2 separate regions of the Homo sapiens genome follow, and region 1 is linked to region 2. The links are contacts of gene promoters, found by promoter capture Hi-C in human tissues and cell types (Jung and others, 2019). All regions are on one chromosome and are shown on one strand. The core of a region is centred on a gene start or on the middle of the fragment in contact, and the rest is flanking DNA. Distances in the headings are between cores, read along the strand shown. Region 1 overlaps MUC20 (mucin 20, cell surface associated). Region 2 holds the start of UBXN7 (UBX domain protein 7).

Evidence for each region. The method cuts DNA at HindIII sites, captures the fragments that hold promoters and counts their contacts. A contact is called where the count stands out against the background at its distance.
Region 1: a contact is called between a fragment that was not itself captured here and the fragment with the promoter of UBXN7 in region 2, in 1 of the 25 tissues and cell types used here (pancreas).

What each region holds. Positions count from the first base shown.
Region 1 is chr3:195,727,433-195,734,654 of GRCh38, forward strand. It overlaps MUC20 (mucin 20, cell surface associated), which reads left to right. Exons shown (of 4, transcript NM_001282506.2): 3 at 2,216-2,307; 4 at 5,718-6,119. The coding sequence ends at 5,786. Among named protein-coding and RNA genes, the nearest start is that of MUC20, 10 kb to the left of the region's middle. The HindIII fragment of the contact is 3,313 bases long and covers 427-3,739 here.
Region 2 is chr3:196,428,079-196,435,177 of GRCh38, forward strand. UBXN7 (UBX domain protein 7) reads right to left here and starts at 4,349. Exons shown (of 11, transcript NM_015562.2): 1 at 4,249-4,349. The coding sequence starts at 4,321. UBXN7-AS1 (UBXN7 antisense RNA 1) reads left to right here and starts at 3,307. Exons shown (of 2, transcript NR_046745.1): 1 at 3,307-3,363; 2 at 4,124-4,956. RefSeq lists enhancers at 3,106-3,880, 3,457-3,506, 3,881-4,654, 4,587-4,666 and silencers at 4,217-4,276, 4,297-4,546. The HindIII fragment of the contact is 10,299 bases long and covers 1-5,749 here.

The sequences.
Region 1 (7,222 bases), core at 833-3,332, 700 kb before region 2:
TCTCTGAGGCAACAGGGACTTCTCAGGGGAGAAGTTCATTGTCAGAGGCTGCTTGGTCAGTCCAGCTTCTGGTCAGCCTGTAGCCTCCACCTCCACTTCCTGTCACTCTGCCCTTGGGCCTCATCTCTGTGTATCCGCAGCTTGTTACCACCTTTCTGGGGGAGGTGGGAATACAAATATTAATCACAACCACTCAATACATAAAGATATTATTGAATATCTTTCATGTTATAGGCAGGGGTGATATAAACATGTTTCACACCCAGTAAGCACTGGCCCCAGCAGAACGTTCTCTCCGGTGCCAGGCAGTGTGCCACCAGCTTTGCATATGTTATCTGATGCCAGGCAGTGTGCCACCGGCTTTGTATATGTTATCTGATGCCAGGCAGTGTGCCACCGGCTTTGCATATGTTATCTGATGCCAGGCAGTGTACCACCAGCTTTGCATATGTTATCTGATGCCAGGCAGTGTACCACCGGCTTTGCATATGTTATCTGATGCCAGGCAGTGTGCCACCAGCTTTGCATATGTTATGATGCCAGGCAGTGTGCCACCAGCTTTGCATATGTTATCTCCTCTATTTAACCTTCAAAACAGCCTTAGGAGGTGGGTAACACGACCCCATCTGACAGGGTTAAAGATGGTAGCTAAACTGCTCTGGAAAGTGAAGGGGTGGCCTGCCCCTCCACACCTGTGGGTATTTCTAGTCGGGTGGGATGAGAGACTGAGAAAAGAAATAAGGCACAGAGACAAAGTATAGAGAAACAACAGTGGGCCCAGGGGACCGTCGCTCAGCATACCAAGGACCTGCACCGGCACCAGTCTCTGAGTTTTCTCAGTTTTTATTGATTATTATTTTCATTATTTTAGCAAAAAGGAATGTAGTAGGAGAGCAGGGTGATAATAAGGAGAAGGTCAGCAAGAAACATGTGAGCAAAAGAATCTGTGTCATAATTAAGTTCAAGGGAAGATACTATGCCTGGATGTGCACGTAGGCCAGATTTATGTTTCTCTCCACCCAAACATCTCAGCAGAGTAAAGAATAATAAAGCAGCATTGCTGCAAACATGTCTCACCTCCCGCCACAGGGTGGTTTTTCTCCTGTCTCAGAATTGAACAAATGTACAATCGGGTTTTATACTGAGACATTCAGTTCCCAGGGGCAGGCAGGAGACAGTGGCCTTCCTCTATCTCAACTGCAAGAGGAGATCCTCTTTTACTAATCCACCTCAGCACAGACCCTTTACGGGTGTCAGCCTGGGGGACGGTCAGGTCTTTGTCATCCCACAAGGCCATATTTCAGACTATACATGGGGAGAAAGCTTGGACAATAACCTGCTTTCAAGGGCAGAGGTCCCTGCGGCTTTCCACAGTGCATTGTGCCCCTGGTTTATTGAGACTAGAGAATGGCGATGACTTCTACCAAGTATACTGCTTGTAAACATTTTGTTAACAAGGCACGTCCTGCACAGCCCTAGATCCCTTAAACCTTGATTTTATACAACACATGTTTTTATGAGCTCAAGGTTGGGGCAAAGTTACAAATTAACAACATCTCAGCAAAGCTTGTTTAAAGTACAGGTCTTTTTCAAAATGGAGTCTCATGTCTTTCCTTTCTACAGAGACACAGTGACAGTCTGATCGCTCCTTCTTTTCCCTGGAAAGAAAAATACTTTATTATTTGTTGATTAGATAAGACATTCATATGATTTGAAATGGAAAGGTACGAAAAGGTTCACCATAAAATGCCTTTCTCCCCTGGCTGTGCCCCCACCCAGTTCTCTCCACACATGTAACCCGTGAGATTGTCTCTTGTGTGTAATTTTCTGCACATGAAATGTACATACGGAAGCAAATATATGTGACTATTTCATCCTCCTCTTTTTTTTTTTTTTTTTTTTTGAGACAGTTTCGCTCTTGTTGCCCAGGTTGGAGTGTAGTGCTGCGATCTCAGATCACCACAACCTCCGCCTCCCAGGTTCAGGCGATTCTCCTGCCTCAGCCTCCTGAGTAGCTGGGATTACAGGCACGCACCACCATGCCCGGCTCATTTTGTGTTTTTAGTAAAGACGGGATTTCTCCATGTTGGTCAGGCTGGTCTCAAACTCCCGATCTCAGGTGATCCACCTGCCTCTGCCTCCCAAAGTGCTGGGATGACAGGTGTGAGCCACTGCGCCCAGCCCTGATTTTCATCTTACTGTTCTCCATTTGCAGGTGAAAATGGAGGTTTCCTCCTCCTGCGGCTGAGTGTGGCTTCCCCGGAAGACCTCACTGACCCCAGAGTGGCAGAAAGGCTGATGCAGCAGGTGAGTGGGCACTTTCCGGGCCAGGGGAGTAGAGGAAGGGGCGAGGTTCGCAGGGGCTGCAGGGAAGACCCGCAGGACACAGAAGAGCAGCTACCGCGCTTGGAAGGGAGTCTCGTTTCTTACGGAGAATTGGGAGCTGAATCTGAGGATCTCTGCCTGGCTTTGCTTCTGCCTGCCTTCTCCGAGTTCTTCATTTCCTTCTCTGCAATGTAAACATGTGACTCCTAGAGCCCCCAGTTTCTTCTGGTCCTTGGAAGCTTGGCCTTCTGGCCTCTGAGGCAAAGGTCAGTGATACTGATGGGAGGGTAGGTCGGACTCTTGGTTGCAAGTGGCAGAAACCCAAGTCAGGGCAGTTTATGCAAAAAAAAAAAAAAAAAAAAAAAGGCAAGGTCTGAGAAACCTACAAGTGTCTCTTCAGCTTCAGTACGGCTGGATCCAGCAGCTCCAGCGCCATCACAGGGACTTTCTCTTTCTTTCCCTGTCTTAGCTTTACTCCCTTCATTCTTCAGAGTCTTTCTTCATGTGTATGAAAAGGCAGCCTTGTTAGCCATAGATTCACAAGGGACTTCCATCTCCCCACATTTTCTTTTCTTTTTTCTTTTTCTTTCTTTCTTTTTGTTTTTTGAGACGAAGTCTCGCTCTGTCGCCCAGGCTGGAGTGCAGTGGTGCGATCTCAGCTCACTGCAAGCTCCGCCTCCTGGGTTCACGCCATTCTCCTGCCTCAGCCTCCCAAGTAGCTGGGACTACAGGCGCCCGCCACCACGCCCAACTAATTTTTATGTTTTTTTTTTTAGTAGAGACGGGGTTTCACCGTGTTAGCCAGAATAGTCTCAATCTCCTGACCTCGTGATCCACCCGTCTTGGCCTCCCAAAGTGCTGGGATTACAGACATGAGCCACCGCACCCGGCCCCCTCTCCCCAAATTTTCATGTCATCTGGGGAAGTGCAGGTCTCCATGGCCTGCAAGGGTCACCATGACTGACAACCCAGTCAGGATCCCATAGAGGAAGGATGAGCCCCAAGAAAATAGGGAGGCTAGGCAGAAAAAACCGCAGAGATGTATACTCTAGATGAGGACCATGATTGGGATGTATTTGTACAAGTTGGGAAAATTCTCCTAAAACCCACTGGATAGAACTTCCAATGGTAAAGTTCCGGGGTCAGGGTTTTGAGGATGGGGATGGTGTGGCTTGTTGGAGGTTAGACTGGGTCAGCTCAGTGCAGATGTCACGGGCCTGGCCTCACTGAGGGGTGGGTTGTTCTCCTAATGTGTGGTACAAAGTAGCAGATGGGGCATGATGGGAAGTGTCTAAGCTCTGCTCACAGATGTAACCGTGAAAACAGGCCCAGTGCACAGTCTAATGTGGATTGCCTCTTTGACAGTGCCCTTGCTAATACCTGAAGCTTGCATTCAGCACCTCTCACAGTCAATGGGACAGTGCCCTTGCTAATACCTGAAGCTTGCATTCAGCACCTCTCACAGTCAATGGGTGCCACACTGCTGAAAAGTGGCTCAGGCTTCCTGTCATCCCTTGCAAGGGTAAACCTGGCAGAGATGCTGGCTGGGGGTCTTATGCCAGGTGTAGAGTTCATAGCCAGGCTGGACAGGTGGAATGATTGCCCTTAGCAGAGGGAAGCAAGATATGTCCGTGGAGAGTGGGATCCTTTGTTGCAGGCGAAAGAAAACCTCTGTCTGTCGTAAGTAAAAGGGGGATTTGTTGGCAGCGTCCCAGAGTGCATAGAATCAAAGCAATGCCAGGACAGCAGGCTTGGAAAATAGGCAGGAGGGCCCCCAGGAGCTCTGAGGTCCAGACAGTGGGATCAGGCTGGCTGGGACACTGTCCCTCTTGCTGGTCAGTCACTATTGGATGCTGCCACAGCCAAGGGGCATCACGTGGCCTGCACACACATTCACATAGGTTCTCGCTGCCTTTTTGTCTCACTGGACTTTTTGCTCCAGAGCCAAAGTCCTGAGTAGGAACATTTGATAGGCTGAGCTTAGCCCTTGTACTCCCATGAGCCCACAGCCAGGTGCCAGGGGACGGGAAGAAGGGATGTCTGTGTCCTTGGAGTTCTCTTAGCAGCAGTGAGGCCAATCGTGACTCCCACTGTGAGGAGTTCCCTAAACATGGCACGGGGGCTCGACACCCGATGGCCAAATAAGTGACAAATGCCCCCGGCATGTGATAATCAAAGTAGCGAGTGTGAATCCTTGTGGGAGAGGGAAGCCAATTGCTTTTGTTTTGTTTTGTTTTGTTTTGTTTTGTTTTGTTTTGTTTTCTGAGACTGAGTCTCACTCTGTCATCCAAGCTGGAGTGCAGTGGTGCGATCTTGGCTCACCACAACCTCCGCCTCCCAGGTTCAAGCCATTCTCCTGCCTCAACCTTCTGAGTAGCTGGGATTACAGGCCCGCACCACCATACCTGGCTAATTTTTGTATTTTTAGTAGAGATGGAGTTTCAGGTTTCAGCATCTTGGCCAGGCTAGTCTTGAACTCTTGACCTCATGATCCACCCACCTCAGCCTCCCAAAGTGCTGGGATTACAGGCGTTGAGTCATTGCGTCCGGCTGGGAAGCCAGTTTTCTTTTTCTTTTTCTTTTTCTTTCTCTTTTTCTTTTCTTTTCTTTTATTTTTCTTGAGACAGATTCTCGCTCTGTCGTCCAGGCTGGAGTGCAATGGCACGATCTCGGCTCACTGCAACCTCCACCTCCCGGATTCAAGCAATTCTCCTGCCTCAACCTCCCTAGTAGCTGGGATTACAGGTGCACACTACCACTCCTGGCTAATTTTTGTATTTTTAGTAGAGATGGGGTTTCTCCATGTTGGTCAGGCTGGTCTCGAACTCCTGACCTCAGGTGACCCACCTGCCTCTGCTTCCCAAAGCACTGGGATTATTGGCGTGAGCCACCGCACCCGGCCGGGAAGCCAGTTTTGAATCTCAGGTCTAAGCCCCCAAACCAGAAATGATTTCAGGAATCGGAAAGAAACCGCGAGATCAGGAGCAGGTCAAGCAGCTGAGGCGCAGGCACCAGGCCACATGGGGTTGGGCATCAGTTCTCGTCCGGGGACAGCCCAACAGTTTGGGCTCGGGGATTAGACAATGAGCTTAGGAACCAGCTAGATCTGGGTGTGAATTCTAGTTCCCAACTGTGTGATCTTGGATAAGTTATTCTATGCGACTTTCATCCCTTATAAAATGAGGATCCTAACACCTGCTTTATAAGGTTGCTGTGAGGTTTAGATGACATAATGTGTGTGAGGCACCAGCCTGTGTCCAGCATGTAGGAGGCCCAGGAAGGGTTGCCGTCCTCCGCATGCACTCTGCCCCAGTGTCCCTTCCTGTCCTCTGCCTCTGGCGAGCTCATGGGCCAGATGGGCTGAAAGGACAGCTGGCTCTTTTGCTCTCCAGCTCCACCGGGAACTCCACGCCCACGCGCCTCACTTCCAGGTCTCCTTACTGCGTGTCAGGAGAGGCTAACGGACATCAGCTGCAGCCAGGCATGTCCCGTATGCCAAAAGAGGGTGCTGCCCCTAGCCTGGGCCCCCACCGACAGACTGCAGCTGCGTTACTGTGCTGAGAGGTACCCAGAAGGTTCCCATGAAGGGCAGCATGTCCAAGCCCCTGACCCCAGATGTGGCAACAGGACCCTCGCTCACATCCACCGGAGTGTATGTGTGGGGAGGGGCTTCACCTGTTCCCAGAGGTGTCCTTGGACTCACCTTGGCACATGTTCTGTGTTTCAGTAAAGAGAGACCTGATCACCCATCTGTGTGCTTCCATCCTGCATTAAAATTCACTCAGTGTGGCCCAGAGGCTGTCTATTGATCTGCATGCTTTCGCCATTTTTATAGTACAGGGATTGTGTATAGTCTCACTGCTACCTCCTCCTTCTACTCCCCCAGGTCTTGGTTTGGACTTTGATGATAGCATTTACTGAGACGGGCCTGGAGCCTGTCGAACAGCCCGCTGCAGCAGGGCAGGGACCACCTTTGTTCATCTCAGTATCCCCTGAACTAGCAGAGTGTCTGGCCTGCAGTGGGATCGCAGAGAATGTGGAATTGACCTAAATTTAAATTTCAAGTTCTGGACACAAGCCTCAATTATTCCTCTTATATGTTATAACTTACATGCTATTATTTTTTTAAAAAATTAATATGGTTTACTTTTTATTATAAAAGTAAAACTTGGCCAGGCTCAGTGGCTCACGCCTGTAATCCCAGCACTTTGGGAGGCCGAGGCCGGTGGATCACGAGGTCAGGAGTTTGAGACTAGCCTGGCCAACATGGTGAAACCCCGTCTCTACTAAAAACACGAAAATTAGCTGGGTGTGGTGGCAGGTGCCTGTAATCCCAGCTACCCAGGAGGCTGAGACGGGAGAATCACTTGAACCCGGGAGGCAGAGGTTGCAGTGACCCAAGATCCTACCACTGCACCCCAGCCTGGGCAAAAGGGCAAGACTCTGTCTCATAAATAAATAAATTTAAAATAAAAGTAAAACTTGTTTATGATTTCAAAATTTTGAAATATTCCAAAGACCAAGCAAAGTAAGAAGTGGGAAGAGGAGAAAGAAAAACTTTTCTATAATCCCACCTCTTAGATACAACGATTTATTTTTTAAAATTGAGACAGGGTCTCACTCTCACCCAAACTGCAGTGCAGTGGTGCGACCATGGCTCACTGCAGCCTCCACCTCCCAGCTCCAGTGATCCTCCCACCTCAGCCTCCTGAGGAGCTGGGACCACAGCTGGCTAATTTTTGTACTTTGTTTTGTAAAAAAGGGGCTTTACCATGTTGAGCAGGTTGGTCTCGATCTTCTGAGCTCAAGCAGTCCTCCTGCCTCAGACTCGCAAAGTGCTGGGATTACAGACATGAGCCACTGTGCCCAGCCTTATATACAGCTATTATTATTAATG
Region 2 (7,099 bases), core at 3,099-5,598:
ATGCCACTGCACTCCAGCCTGGGTGACGGAGTGAAATTCTGTCGAAAACAAAAACAAAAACAAAAACAAACAAAAAGCAAGCATCAATGGTAAACCATACTGTATACAGCTTCTCAGTGTGGTTACTTCAAAGGTCATCACTTCTCTTGGCTACCTGCTTATCAGTCTGACCATGCAAAAAAGGTTTGTAGCATAATGTTAAGTGAAAATTTCAGAACCGTGTATTTTAGCTGGGCATGGTGGCACATGCCTGTAGTCTTAACTGCTCTGGAGGCTGAGGCAGGAGAATCACTTGAGCCCAGGCGGTAAGGATGCAGCAAGCTATAATTGTGCCACTGTACTCCAGCCTGGGTGACAGAACAAGACCGTCTTTAAAAAAAAAAAAAGAAAAAGAAATCTCAGAAATTGTATATACTATGATCCACAATGTAAAAATAAGCATATAAACAAGAAGTGGAAGATAATATGTAAAATAAATATTGCTGTTGTGAGAAGGAGAATTAGTTCTTTTCCCTTTTATCAAAATTATTTCGGCCAGGTGCAGTGTCCCACGCCTGTAATCCCAGCACTTTGGGAGGCCAAGGTGGGTGGATTGCTTGAGCCCAGGAGTTCAAGACCAGCCTGCACAACAAAGTGAGACCCCATCTCCACAAAAAATAAAGAAAGTTACCCTAGAGGCTGCAGTGAGCCGTGATCACACCACTGCACTCTAGTCTGGGTGGCAGTGTGAGACCCAGTCCGTCTCAAAAAAAAAAAAAAAAGTTTTTATGATATTGTCTTTTTAATAATCTTTTTTAATCAGCCATTACTGAACCAGGCACAGTGATGTGCACCTGTAGCCCCAGTTACTGGGAGGGCTGAGGCAAGAGGATGGCTGAGCCCAGAAACTGGAGAACAGCTTGGGCAACAAAGAGAGGAGACCTCCATCTCTTAAAAAAAAAAAAAAAAAATCAAAAATCCGTCATTAGGCCAGGCGCGGTGGCTCACACGTGTAATCCCAGCACTTTGGGAGGCCGAGGCAGGCGGATCACGAGGTCAGGAGATCGAGACCATCCCAGATAACACGGTGAAACCCCGTCTCTACTAAAAATACAAAAAATTAGCCAGGCGTGGTGGCAGGCGCCTGTGGTCCCAGCTACTTGGGAGGCTGAGGCACGAGAATGGTGTGAACCTGGGAGGCAGAGCTTGCAGTGAGCCAACATCACGCCACTGCACTCCAGCCTGGGTGACAGAGCGAGACTCCGTCTCAAAAAAAAAAAAAACATCAGTCATTATTTCATACTCACTGAATCAGAGAGAGATCTGTTCTATTCAGTAAGAAATAAGACTTTTCTAAAATCTTTCAATTTTCCGTTCTATTTCTAAATGCCAAAAAAAGATAAGACTCACATTTATTTTTATTTTTTCTTTTTCTTTTTTTTGCTCCTGCCTAAAAAGTAAGGACTCACATTTTTGATGATGCATTTGTTTTTACAAGAATATTGAGCTTCCAAGTAAAACCTTTGTGAAATCAGAGCATAAGCTATTAAGGTCACTAAAATAAATATAAAATACCTTTTAATTATAAACACTACGATTAAAACGTATGTGGAGAGAACCCCAAAAAAATTTTAAGACATGTAAAAAAGGCAAAAAGAAATCAATCATGTGTTTCTAACGGTTAATCACTATCTTGTAAAAAGAATCCCAAAAATTATCAATAGAAATTCACAATATTTGAAGAACACTCAAAGGTATTTTCGCTCTGTAGATCTCCAGATACCACTGTCTACTGATTGAGGGACTCCAACTTGATCCAGCAATCAAGCTACGTAGACGAACAGAAACAGAATTAAAGCAATTAAGTGAGTCAATTCAACTCACCACACTTCGGTTTTTGTGTGTACCTAATAAAAATGTTGCAACAGAAGAAGTAATGTGGCGTTAAACCAATCAGAGTTTGGGAAGAGTAGTAATTAGCATAAGAAACTGAAAATTAATTAAGTGGCTTTTAGGGCCAGGCGCGGTGGCTCACGCCTGTAATCCTAGCACTTTGGGAGGCTGAGGTGAGTGGATCATTTGAGGACAGGAGTTCAAGACCAGCCAGGCCAACATGATGAAACCCCGCCTCTACTAAAAATACAAAAATTAGCCGGGCCTGGTGACAGGCGCTTGTAGTCCCAGCTACTCGGGAGGCTGAGACAGGAGAATCGCTTGAACCCGGGAGGTGGAGGTTGCAGTGAGCCAAGATCGTGCCTGGGAGATCTGCACTCCAACCTGGGCAACACAGCGAGACTGTCTCAAAATAATAATAATAATAATAATAATAAGTGGCTTTTTTTTTCTTTTTGAGAAATGATCTTGCTCTGTTGCCAGGGATGGAGCGCAGTGGTATGATCTACTCACCGCAGCCTTGAACTCCTAGGCTCAAGCAATCCTCCCACCTCAGCCTCCCCAGTAGCTGGGACTACATGTCGGTGCCACTACATCCAGCTCATTTTCTTATTTCTGTAGAGATGGGGCCTCACTATGTTTTGCCCAGGCTGGTCTGCAACTCCTCGCCCCATGTGAATCTCCAGCCTCCGTCTCCCAAACTGCTAGGATTACAGGCGTGAGACACCGCGCCAGGCCCAAGTGGCATCATAAACCATCTCTAGGAAATCTAAAGGATTAATAATGATATTCACTTCTCTATCAGATTCACTGCAAAGATTTTTCTATATAAGCATAATGCAGCAACACTAACTTATATACACAATAATCTTCTCCATAGCAATGATTTGTCAGACATTAGGAAATCCTTTACATATTTAATATAATAATCCAATCCTTTATATCTTCAATAATCCAATCACAAAGTTCAAAAATATTAAGAGAAGTTATCATGCAACTCCTCACCCCAATTTTATTGCAAATTTTACTTTACTTTGACCTGATGTTCCATGCCCACAAGCTAGATAACAATGCGTCAAATATCTCGTTATCATTGCAAAGCAAAAAAATAAAACTTGCTTTAATATAAAACGGTAACTAGTATACAACCTGTAGTAGTTAAAACAATATAAAATTTTACTTAACCAGATATTGCACGTTAAACTCTAGGAACATTAACAGTGGAAACATTCTCCGCATCTAACAAATTACGAGATAAAGTATAGATCCGTTGAGAGGGAACTAACATTCTGACCTCCTTCCAAAACGACAAACTAGAACGGCAAAATTACACTCAGGCACATTGGAGTACTCTTCTCTCAAATCACTCCACAGAGAACTTCATCATTTGCTCCGCCCTCTAATAACTCATGCAAGAAAAGTTCAGCACCATCAGAGAGAAACAAGACAGAGAGAATTCATAGAATGGCTTTAGGGCCTTTCCTCCAGGCGGTAAGAGGATCTGCGTGTGTCCTTCGCAGGGGTCCAAAGGGAGAGAACCTAGGCCTAGGGTTTCGGGGATACCGACACCCAGAAACAGATTTTCTCTCAAAGAAGTTTCTGCCGCCATCCCTATCTTATCAGCAGGAGGCCCCGGCGCCATCGTCTCCGTCTTTATGATTTTATTATGGGGAGGTGGGAAACGCCACCCTGGATTCTTCCAGGCCTCCCCTATTCAGCTTGGGGGTTCCCCCTCATTCTTCCCTCAAAGCCTCAGTCCCTGAGGTCCTCCTCAGCACCCCCCGCTTCTGGCGGCCTGTCCCCCGTGAAGTGTAAAGGCACGGCCGAACCCACCGGCCTTGCCGTGAAGGCGGGAGGGCCCGAACCCGCCAGGGCCACGGCGATGGCTCCGAGGGGCCCAGAAAGGGGAAGGGCAGGCCGGGGACCGGGGCAGAATGACCTGGCCGGGGAAGAAAGGAAAAAAGGAGGTGAGGAGATGCACCGCACCGCAGGGCTGCACAGAGAAGGGAAGATGATGAAGGAGGAGGAGGAGGGCGGTGGCCCGGGTGCGGCCCCCTACTCCTCCCGCCCCCGGGTCCCCGGGCCGGCGGGGGCGGACGGACTCGGCCCATTCCCAGGTCTGGGCTGGCGGGGGGTTGGGGGATCTCCCTCCACGCTACTAGGAGACAGAGAACGAGGGTATCGGGAGCGGGGGGGGGCTGTCTCCCGCCTGAACCCGGAGACCCCGACGCCGTCGTCGCCTCTTCCTCAGGAGGGAGGACGGCAGCTGTGGGTAAAGCCCGAAGGAGGAATGCCTGAAGGTAAGGGGAAGCCCGGGGCAGACCCGCTGCCCGCTCCGGACCCCACTCTCCACCTTCCGGTAACCGCGTCTCTTACCGGTAATGGTGGTGAACTGTTGAATTAACCCCTTCAGCGCCGAGGACGCCGCGGAGCCCCCGTGGGCAGCCATCTTACCGCCGCCGCCGCCGCCGAACAACAACACAGACACACACGGACTGCCCTCCCCCACTTCGCCGTGCGGTGTGCGCAGGCGCATTGACCGCCCCTCGAGCCCCGCCCCTCCCGTCCCCAGCGGTCTGCGCAGGCGCATTTTCCGACCGGGCCCGCGCGCTCCCAGCTCTCGGGTTGGCTGCTCGGTTGCTGCCTGCTCAGTGCATCCTTTTTGCCATTGCTGGTGCCTTCCTCTCCGGGCTCCAAGGCTAGCCTCGCAGGCGCGGTGTCGATTCCTAGATTCCGAAGGAAGCTTCGGTCTCGGCAGATAGTTCTTCGCATTTCAGCTTCGCAAGCTTTATTGACAGAGCCAACTGCCGATGACAGCATTTTTCTGTTTTGCGGTTGTACCGCACTCTATTAGGTTTCCTGCAGGTCCCATCAAAATGCAAACCCTACCTCCTCGCTTTGAAGCGACTCTCCCCGTACTCGCCCCCCAGCCTCTAAACTAATGGCTTAGCTAACCGATTGCGACGAGTGAAATACCAGAACCCTTCATGCCAAAGAAAGCACTTAGCGCGGGGTTGCCACCCAGTAGGTTTTCATAAACGATTGTTTAGTCTGCTTTCCTTAAATAAATTGGCCATCACGTCTCCCGTTAGGGTCTTAATGAGACCCCAAGAGGCGTCATTTGTATAAAAAGAAACTCTGTATATGCAGTAGAGGAAAGAAAACATATAGAAAGGAGACTGGAAAAGTGTGCTCAAAACGCTGGTAACGGTTACCTCCAGAGAAGAGAACGATCGGGACGATGGTCAAAGCGGACCTTACTTCGAGTTTCTTATTTATCTTTTTATTTTTAAACAAACATTATTGGCCGGGCGCGGTGGCTCATGACTGTAATCCCAGCACTTTGGAAGGCCGAGGTGGGAGAATCGCTTGAGGCAAGGAGTTCGAGACCAGACTGGGAAATATATCAAGAATCCATCTCAAAAAAAAAAAAAAAAAAAAGATATTCGTGTGTTCCTTGAATAATTTTAAGTATTTTGCAAAACAGTTACATGAGTGGGGTGCGCTCAAATCCAATAATCCCCCACCTTGCCCATAAAGTTAAAAGAGATTCCAAGTGATTCCGTTTGTTTTAGCCTCCCACCTTCCAACCTCCACCCACATATTTTGCATCTTCATAGGAAAATGGCCCAATAAAAGATGGGATGAGCTGTCTGAAGAATTGACACATCCTAAGAGTAAACATGCTATTGGGGAGAATTAAGAAAGAGCCATGTCAAATCAAGGGGTATAGTTTTTTGTTTTGTTTTGTTTGACAGGGAGTCTCGCTCTGTCGCCCAGGCTGGAGTGCAGTGGTGCAATCTCAGTTTACTGAAAGCTCCGCCTCCCGGGTTCAAGCGATTCTCCTGCCTCAGCCTCCCAAGTAGCTGGGATTACAGGCACACGCCACCACGCCTGGCTAATTTTTGTATTTTTAATAGAGACGAGGTTTCACCATGTTGAGCAGGCTAGTCTCAAACTACTGACCTCAAGTGATCCACCCGCCTCGGCCTCCCAAAGTGTTGGGATTACAGGCGTGAGCCACCACACCCAGTCGGGCTGTAGTTTCAAGAAGATATGATTGATGTAAAAGAAAGCAGACTCCAGTAATCCCAGCACTTTGGGAGGCCGAGGCGGGCGGATCGCCCGAGGTCAGGAGTTCCAGACCAGCCTGGTCAACATGGCGAAACCCCATCTCTACTAAAAATACAAAAATTAGCTGCTGTGGTGGCGCGGGCACCTGTAATCCCAGCTACTTGGGAGGCTGAGGCAGGAGAATCACTTGAACCCGGGAGGCAGAGGTTGCAGTGAGCCGAGATCATGCCACTGTGCTCCAGCCTGGGTGACAGAGCAAGACTCCGTCTCAAAAAAAAAAATGTATTTTAAGTTAAATGACAGATTGGTCCTGGCACTGCCTTCCAGGTTGCTGCAGTTCTCTAGATGGGCTGAGGAAGGGCAGGGATCAGTCATAAATTTCGGCAGCTGATTCCTTCACATTTGATGCAGAGGTGCAAAAACAGGCAAGGGAAGAAAGCCAAATCAAGAAAGTGTTACCTCTGTCTCCCTTCATCCTAAAGGCTGAGTCACTAGCCAGCCATGCAAAATCAAGCTCCACGTAAAATGGTATAACACCATTAACTACAAAAACTAAACACAGTGATTACTGTACCTCCATCAGATGGAGAGGCCAGTAATGAGCTCTGCAGGTTTATCAGGTTTATTTCCAAAATCTTATAATTCAGATTTAATGATATGATTTTGATTAACAGTGCAGGAAAAGGTGATAAAGTCTGTGGCATCCACAACTCCAGAAGGCATTTTTTTAGAAATTAAAAAATAAGATAAAAGAAAATTAGACAGGTGGCCAAAAAGATTCCATGGTCGGGGGGAGGGGGGGAAAGAAGGGAAGAAAATGAGACAGTTTCCATGGATAACCAGGGAACTGGGAAAAATAAATAAAGAAGTAATGAATAATACAACCTTGAAAAGCTTTTTTGGATTATTAAAGAATATGAAGGACTGACCAGTTGCGGTGGCTCACACCTGTAATCCCAGCACTTTGGGAGGCCGAGGCTGGGGATCACCTGAGGTCAGGAGCTCCAAACCCGCCTGACCAACATGGTGAAACACCATCTTTACTAAAAATACAAAATTAGCTGGGCGTGATGGTGCGTGCCTGTAATCCCAGCTACTCGTGTGGCTGAAGCAGGAGAATCGCTTGAGCCCGGGAGGTGAAGTTTGCAGTGAG